Linked DNA regions of Homo sapiens: region 2 is linked to region 1. Evidence: promoter capture Hi-C in 16 types of primary human blood cells and fetal thymus (Javierre and others, 2016). All regions are on one chromosome and are shown on one strand. Each heading gives the region's core, a stretch centred on a gene start or on the middle of the fragment in contact. The rest is flanking DNA. Distances are from core to core; before and after follow the strand shown.

Region 1 (3,862 bases), core at 346-2,845:
CTCATTTTTATAAGATCACACAGAGGTTTTTTTGTTTGTTTGTTTTTGAAATGGAGTTTCGCTTTTGTCGCCCAGGCTGGAGTGGAATGGCGTGATCTCAGCTCACTGTAACCTCCGCCTCCCGGGTTGAAGCAATTCTCCTGCCTCACCCTCCAGAGTAGCTGGGGTTACAGGAACCCACCAACATGCCCAGCAATTTCTTTTTTTAACAAAACTCCTAACACCTCGTTAATCATTAATTAGTCTTTGGGTTTTGGTTCAACACCTAACATTTGCAAATCACACAATTATCTTTGTTCTTTCATTAGCGGAAGACACTTTCATTTGTTACCCTGAGAATATGAGACATTCACAATCTAATTCCTGACTACATTTGATTTCAAACAGATAGGAATAAGTTCCAGAATATAAAATATTAACTATTTGGGAGTATCTTGTGGGTATGCTCTAATTAAGAAATGCTTCCTTTTCCGAGGAAAACTGCTGACATTGCAAGAGTTATTACAAAGCCACAAATCTTAAGAAAATACATGTTTAACTGAAATTATAAAGATATTTTGCAAAAAAGGGAAATCGCTCCTGCTGGTGTTTTGTGTATAAATCTCTTTCTAACTTCAAGCTCTCTCAAGTTAGGGCAACAGTAAATGAAGTGGGAACAGTATCGCATTGGGAAATATCTGAAATGATACCTATGGGACTATCTAACGAAACTGAGGCCCAGAAGAATTGAAGTGACCTGTGCAATGACACCAATTTGTTAGCAGAGCCAAGATTAGAACCAAGTTTGGTGCCTTCCTGCATCCTTCCTGCATCGGTCCTTTCTCGGTGCTGCAGCAGCCTTTTACTTACTAATTTCACCCTGAAGAAAGGTAGACCATCCTGGCGTGGCAGAAGCGTGGACATTCGTTTTCTAAGGGATGGTCACACACCTTTGCCTATTTGCATTTAGTTTCTTTAAAAAGTAAAAACACCTCCATTTTGGAACACTTTTAGAGACAAAAGCAGAACATACGAAAGTGTATTTCACTGCTGAGTTCTTAAGAGGCGTACACCGTGTGGTTATAACGTGCGCAACTCTGTCCCGGGCAACTGAACTTATTTTTAGCGTTATTTTCGGCTTCTGCTGCAGAAAACTAGGGATTCAACTACCCGCACCTACGTTTCACACAACAGCACTCGTCTCTCTCCTTCACTCCTAATAAAAACACCTTACTTCGTTTATTCCTGCCTGCTCTACCTCGTCTCAACATTTTCTCTTGTTAACTTCCACCACACTGCCTTTTACTCGGATTGGAAACCCACTCTCCCCCAACTTCTGTCTCATACCCCCAACTTCTGTCTCATACCCCCAACTTCAGGAAGCGTCTTCCTTTTTTCCGCCTCTCGTTCGCTTTTGTCTTACGAGGCTTCCGGAACACGGCCCAGAATTACAGAGAAAACACACTGCGCACGCGCACTCTCTCGTCACCGCTGTGCGGCTTCTGTTTGGTTGGCCAGTTCGTCCCAATTTCCGACTCACAGGGCTGCGGAGCAGCAACTCTCACGATATTTGCTGCGACCCGCAGGCGCTATCCGCTGCCGGGTTCTGGCGCGCCCTTTCAGTTCTGCTTGCTGTCGGCACCGCTGCGTTACCCGGAACCGCCGGGCCGAACAGCATGACGTCCGCTTTGGAGAACTACATCAACCGTATCCTCAAGCTGGCCGCCGCGGGCGTGAGCCGGGGTCGCGGAGAGGCCGCGGTCGGGGATCGGTGGGAGGTTGGGAGGCCTGGCCTCGGCGGGATCCTGGGGGCGGGCGAGGAGATGAGGGCCCCGGAACGACCCAGAGTTCGCCGGCGGCGCCTCGAGCCTTCCCGCTGCTGCGGGCCCAGGGGTCCTTTCCATTTTGCCTGCAAAACCCAAATAAAAACCCAGTGTGATTATTCCGAACTTTTCTGTCTTAAAAAAAATGTACGCTCTTGATTCTTACTTACTATTTCCCTATGGCATAAGTGTTAAAGTTTGTGAATAAGATGAACAGTCGTCCTGGCGGCGACAACAGTTTTGCAAATCTTTGTACTTGTTTTATTCACATAATTTGCTCGTTCGAGGATAGCAAAAAGTTTAACGATGGTTCACAGACTGTTTCTGTCCCTTTACCACTTGAAGTCCCAACTTGTTGGTAGAATGAAAAAAAATGGTTGCTGTTGTAATGGATTATAGTGAGGAGCAAGTAACAACCCCATGGGAAGTCTTAAAATAGACTTTACAAGTGTTACCGTTTTAAAGTCTTAGGACAAAAACACTACGTTAAGCTCAGGTACAAACTGGGTGACAAAAATTAAATACCGAATGCTTTTAATGATGCGTTATTGGTACCCTGTGACACTGCTTATATAGTTTCTTTACTTTTGAATTACAGAAGCCTGTCCTGGAAGACAGTTTTTTAACATGCTGGAAAATCGTCCAACATCGATTAATTTAGTACTCATCCACTTTTCATTTTAGAAATAAACAGGCCTAAGAAACGAAATATCCTGCCTGAAATAATAGATTGGTAACCTTCCTAGTAGAAAAGTGTCAAAAATCCAGGATATTTTGAGATAAGATACACCGATCACATACAGAAAGAGGTTTTCTTTTTCTATTTTTTCCCTTTTTTAATCATGTAATTATCACAAAGACAAAAACAGAAGCTTTTTTTAAGTTTTTTTTTTTTTTTCTTTTTTTGAGTCGAGGGTCTCACTCTGTTGCCCAGGCTGGAGTGCAGTGGCTTGATCATGGCTCAATGCAACCTTGAACTCCTGAGCCCAAGCAATCCTCCTGCCTCTGCCTCTGCCTCCTGAGTAGCTGGGACTATAGGTCACCAGGCCAGGGTAATAGAGATGGGGGTATCGCTGTGTTGCCCAAGCTGGTCTCACCTCAAGTGATCCTCCTGCCTTGGCGTCTAAGAAACTTTTAACGTTTTTATGTAGTGAACTTAGTGGCTGTGTTGAATACTTATACCTAGTTGTCATATTTATTCTAAAAATTCAAATCATTCCCTTGCCAGAGTCTGTTTTCAATTTGCATTCCCTAAGAAACACTTTCTTTGATTCAGTTATCAGGAACTGTTGCCGTTATTACATCAGATGGGAGAATGATTGTGGTAAGTCTTTGGAATTTTCATTCTCTGCTTTCCTGTAGGTTTATTGGTTGCAAGTTTTATGTGAAACCTCTAATCTCTAATGCCTAGACAGCACATTACACCCGTAGTGCAATTTTATTATAATTCAGCTCTTTATCACTTTGCTGTCAATCCATGTTTTCCTCACTAATAAACATTGTGTGTTACCTACAAGGTTTCTCGGAGCTAGAATAATAGATTCTGCCCTCAGAGAGCTCCTAGTCTGTAGACCTTTATTAAACTTACTTTTCTTCTTCCATTTTTATTTCCTTCCCCATTCAGCACCACATGAATCAGAATTTTTTTGAAATTTTGCATATGCTTAGTAACTTTTTAATGATTTAGATACTATTAATATCTAGATAACATTTAAGGCTTGTATACAATCTTAATATTCTTTGTTTTTAGGTTGTGTGACATGTCTTCTGTAGGACACATTATGATGATTGACTCTCTATATATACACATATATATGTAAAATTGGCTTGTTCCTTGAAGTTGTTTCTCCCTTGCTAATTTATGTCATATAACTAAGATAAAACGTTCCTATAGTGATACTTGTATTTGGAATTTGATCTGAGGAATTCATCTCAAGATTTTTGGGTACTTGGTTATTTCTTCACTTACAATTCATACTTTGAATGCTTTCAAAAGAATTTTAAGGCTACTGAACTTTCTCTATTTTCTAACCTTACCTAGTTTCTTTAAATAATTTGAT
Region 2 (3,720 bases), core at 1,141-3,640, 3.2 Mb after region 1:
CCACGTAATAGAAAAAGTCAATGTTATATATCTATTTCAACTACCTAGCCACAGGCTAGGAAAATACTAAAAGGAAACAAGATACTGAAGTATCCACAAACCATCACATAAAAGCAGAAAAAAACCTCCGCTTTTTAAATGAAAACCCCAACTGGTTATAAATCCTCTGTTGGCTTCTGGCAAAACTGAACTCAGCTTTCATAACATATACATGCTTTTCCTGCCAGCTAATTTTCCAAAATAACTTCACTCTTATCTGAGTGTGACCTAGGAAAATTTCTTTGAAAGTGTGATAAGCAGTTACGCACCAGGTACTTGATGTTCTATTTCACTGTTTCCATGGCCTGCTCAGGCCACACCTTGCAGTGGATGCTGCATGTACCTGCCACCCATTTGTATCTCCCAACAAACCTGTTTCTAAACTCATCCCTAAGACCACAATATAAGCAATGATGATTGTCTAGCTGAATACAACTGTTTTCCATTAAAATGTCTCAGAGAATTCACATTTAGTAAAATTTCTAAATTAAAATCTCATCAAATTAAATCTCAGCCATAACATGCCTCAATTAATTTCCTTAAGAAGCAAATTAATGATTCAAGAATCTACATCAGGATAGGAGTATTGAATATATTTGAGAGCAAATCAAGGAGCATCTATGTATGATGATAATGTGCTAATTCTAAATCATTCCTATTTGTCTTCTTAGAGGGGGCATGTAAAAGCAAAGAAAATATTTACATACAATTATCTTGTATGGGTGAGGGAAGCAAAAACTTAATGGAAACTTCAGGCTGAAAACCATCAATAATTAAACAAGGATTGAACAGGTCCAGAGAAAAGGAGCACAATAGTAAAGGGAGAAAAAGGCCTTTGCTAGAAATTCAGAACTCTAAATCTAGAGGCAACAGGCGAAAGGGCTTATATATAAGTATGTTCATTAAAAGGTAGAAATATAGATATTAGAGCCACTTACCAAAACCAGAAAATGAGTCACAGAAGGATATTTTTAGGATGGAAAAAAAACCCCAAAACTCAACTTAGTACATTTATACATTTGCTCCAAAAAGTGTTACATAGGCCAAAATTTGTTTTAGTGTTTTTGATAAATATATGTCACTGAACCAAATCCAGTTGCTAATATGTAAGGTTCATAATCACCTGAGATTCAACAGCAAGGACAGCCACCACAATGTCGCTGGACAATGAAACACTGCAGCTGGAAAGAGCGCCTGAACTAGGGCCTCAGATGGACGTACTAAACTTCTTTACATGGTTGACAATTTAAACATTCCTTTGGCCCCACTATCTACTCTGATCTAATTTAGTGAAGTTTTATTACTCAGGTAGAAATCAAGCTACTATGTGAATAAGGAGTCATTGTTCTAGAATAAATTAACTTCAGGAACAACAGAGTAAAATCAAAGGTCAAGTGATACTTCCATTATTTCCTTGGGAAGTGGACTAAATCACATAAACCACAGAAACATCACTCTATATTGACAAAATTGTCATAAAAAATTATTTACCAGGAGGGGGATTTCTTGCCAGTTAACATAAACCAAGTATGAATACATACTTATGTCAGTGCAATTCACACACACCCTTATTTTATGTAATCTTCCCACCAGCCTCTAGTTGCTGGGGGCATTAAAACAGCAGCATATATGAGATCAGGGGATTTCTCTAGGGTCACATGAAGGGTAAGTAAGAAGCTCACGCTACAAACAAATCCACTTCCTTTTCACTCCAGCTGTTCACTGACACACTCTAATATAAGAGGCTTGTTGACAAAATGTCATGCCAATCAACTTGGCTTTTGCAAACTGCTTTGGGAATTGCTACAAACTACCCACTCCAGCAATTCAACAGTATGGCAAAATGACTAAGCTTGGGTATTGGAACCCCTCCTTGAAATGGAAATGATACAAGAAAATTAAACGTACAAATACACCCTTTGATGTACCTACTTAATATTAACAAACAGCACTTAATTAAACCACAGGAAAATACCACAAGTTATCCTCTACAAATAGAGAAACTATCATTCAATTCAATCCTACTTCAACTCAGTGCTGGACAAATGACAATTTTAACCCAACCAACTTAGAAAGTTCCCATGATTCTAATAATAAGGGATTCTAATAAGTAAGGGAGAATTCGCCTTCTTTGCCTATCTTTAAACTGAGACAATGCCTTCAGACTCAGACCAGACTATACCATTCATTCTCCTGGACTGTCAGAGCTTGCCAACTTGTCAGATCTTGGACTTCTCAGCATTCATAATCTCATGAGCCAATCCCTTATAATAAACATATACACACACACACACAAACACGCACATACAAATCATATACCTGTATATAAATGAAGCTATCTCCACATGTATTATAAGGAATATATGTCTATATATCTAGAGCTATATCTATACATACACACACACACGCACACATATATATATATATATATATGTAATTGGTTCTGTTTTTCTATAGAACTCAGACTAATACAGACCCCCTCAAGAACAGAATGTAAAAAATTAAATTTTTATCCCCAGAGCATTTAAAGTAAAAGAGAAAAATGAGATAATACTAAAATCAAAAGAATGCTACAACTCAAAGAGTCACTAGGGTAGGTTACTCCGATGTTGCATTTACAAACAAAAGCATGGTATTTTTTAAAAAATACTGTGTTTGCTATAAATAACTACTTTTATGTGAGTAAAACAGGGCAACTGTTGGCAAACTCTTTCTATAAAAGGGCCAGATGGTAAATATTTTTAGGCTTTATGGACCATACAATCTCTACTGCAATTACGCCACTCTGCAGTTGTAGCTAGAAAGCAACCATAGCCAACATGTGAACGAATGAGTCTAATTATATTCTAATAAAGCTTTCTTTATAGACACTGAAATTTAAATTTCATAAAATGTTCATGTGTCACAAAATTATTCTTTTGATTTTTTTTCAACCCACTTAAAAATGTGAAAACCAGTTTTGGCTTGTGGGCCATACAGGCCTAGGGGTTGTACTTTGTCAACCCCTAATAAAAAGAAATAAAAATATAAAATTTAAAAATAAAGGAATAAACATCTTTCCCAACCAGGCTCTAACAGTCCAACTTTTTTTGCTGGGCTACGTGTAGGACATACAACTTCCACATGGCTTTGACAGGTCCTCTTAGAAGTACTACTACAGATGTAGGACAGATGAAACAATCCTAATTTCTGTGCTCCACACGTGTTCATCAAACATTTTCATAATCTGCTCTCCACAGAAAGAAGCATAATTCCATGAGAAACAACAGAATGGATCCTCTTCAAAAGGAAGAAAAAAGTCCTTCCCATCCTGTAGATGAAGCTATCCATCTATAGCAAAGGTGGAAACAAATCTAGATGCTGTTATGTTTCCAAACCAATCCCAGGAAATGTAAAGAAACCAATAAAAATTAATCTCACTATATTACACTTCAGTAACTATAAAAATTATGTTCTTGGGAAAAAACTTACATTACTATTTCCTTTATGTGGGTGTTTATATGGGATTATTTTTATGATAGGTTTAAAAAAAGAGTGAAGTAAATGTGCATCTAATGCTTAACAAACTTCTAAAATTCCAAATATTTAGCTTTAAAAAACCTTGTCTTTAATAACAAGTTATTACTATTGCACATGCAGACGGCTGTCAAGTACCCTGTCTCCCCTGAATGCAACTATACA

What was found. Contacts are between HindIII fragments. The CHiCAGO score rates a contact against its expected background, and 5 or more counts as called.
Region 2: a fragment that was not itself captured here is called in contact with the fragment with the promoter of LSM8 in region 1 in 1 of 17 cell types (naive CD8 T cells); the score reaches 5.6 in naive CD8 T cells.

Annotation. Positions count from the first base shown.
Region 1 is chr7:118,182,569-118,186,430 of GRCh38, forward strand. LSM8 (LSM8 homolog, U6 small nuclear RNA associated) reads left to right here and starts at 1,596. Exons shown (of 4, transcript NM_016200.5): 1 at 1,596-1,686; 2 at 3,086-3,126. The coding sequence starts at 1,656. LOC105375470 (a long non-coding RNA gene) reads right to left here and starts at 1,400. Exons shown (of 4, transcript XR_927904.3): 1 at 1,347-1,400. The HindIII fragment of the contact is 4,305 bases long and covers 1-2,672 here.
Region 2 is chr7:121,384,241-121,387,960 of GRCh38, forward strand. The region is part of intron 1 of FAM3C (FAM3 metabolism regulating signaling molecule C); the gene reads right to left. Among named protein-coding and RNA genes, the nearest start is that of FAM3C, 10 kb to the right of the region's middle. RefSeq lists a silencer at 1,060-1,257. The HindIII fragment of the contact is 1,003 bases long and covers 1,890-2,892 here.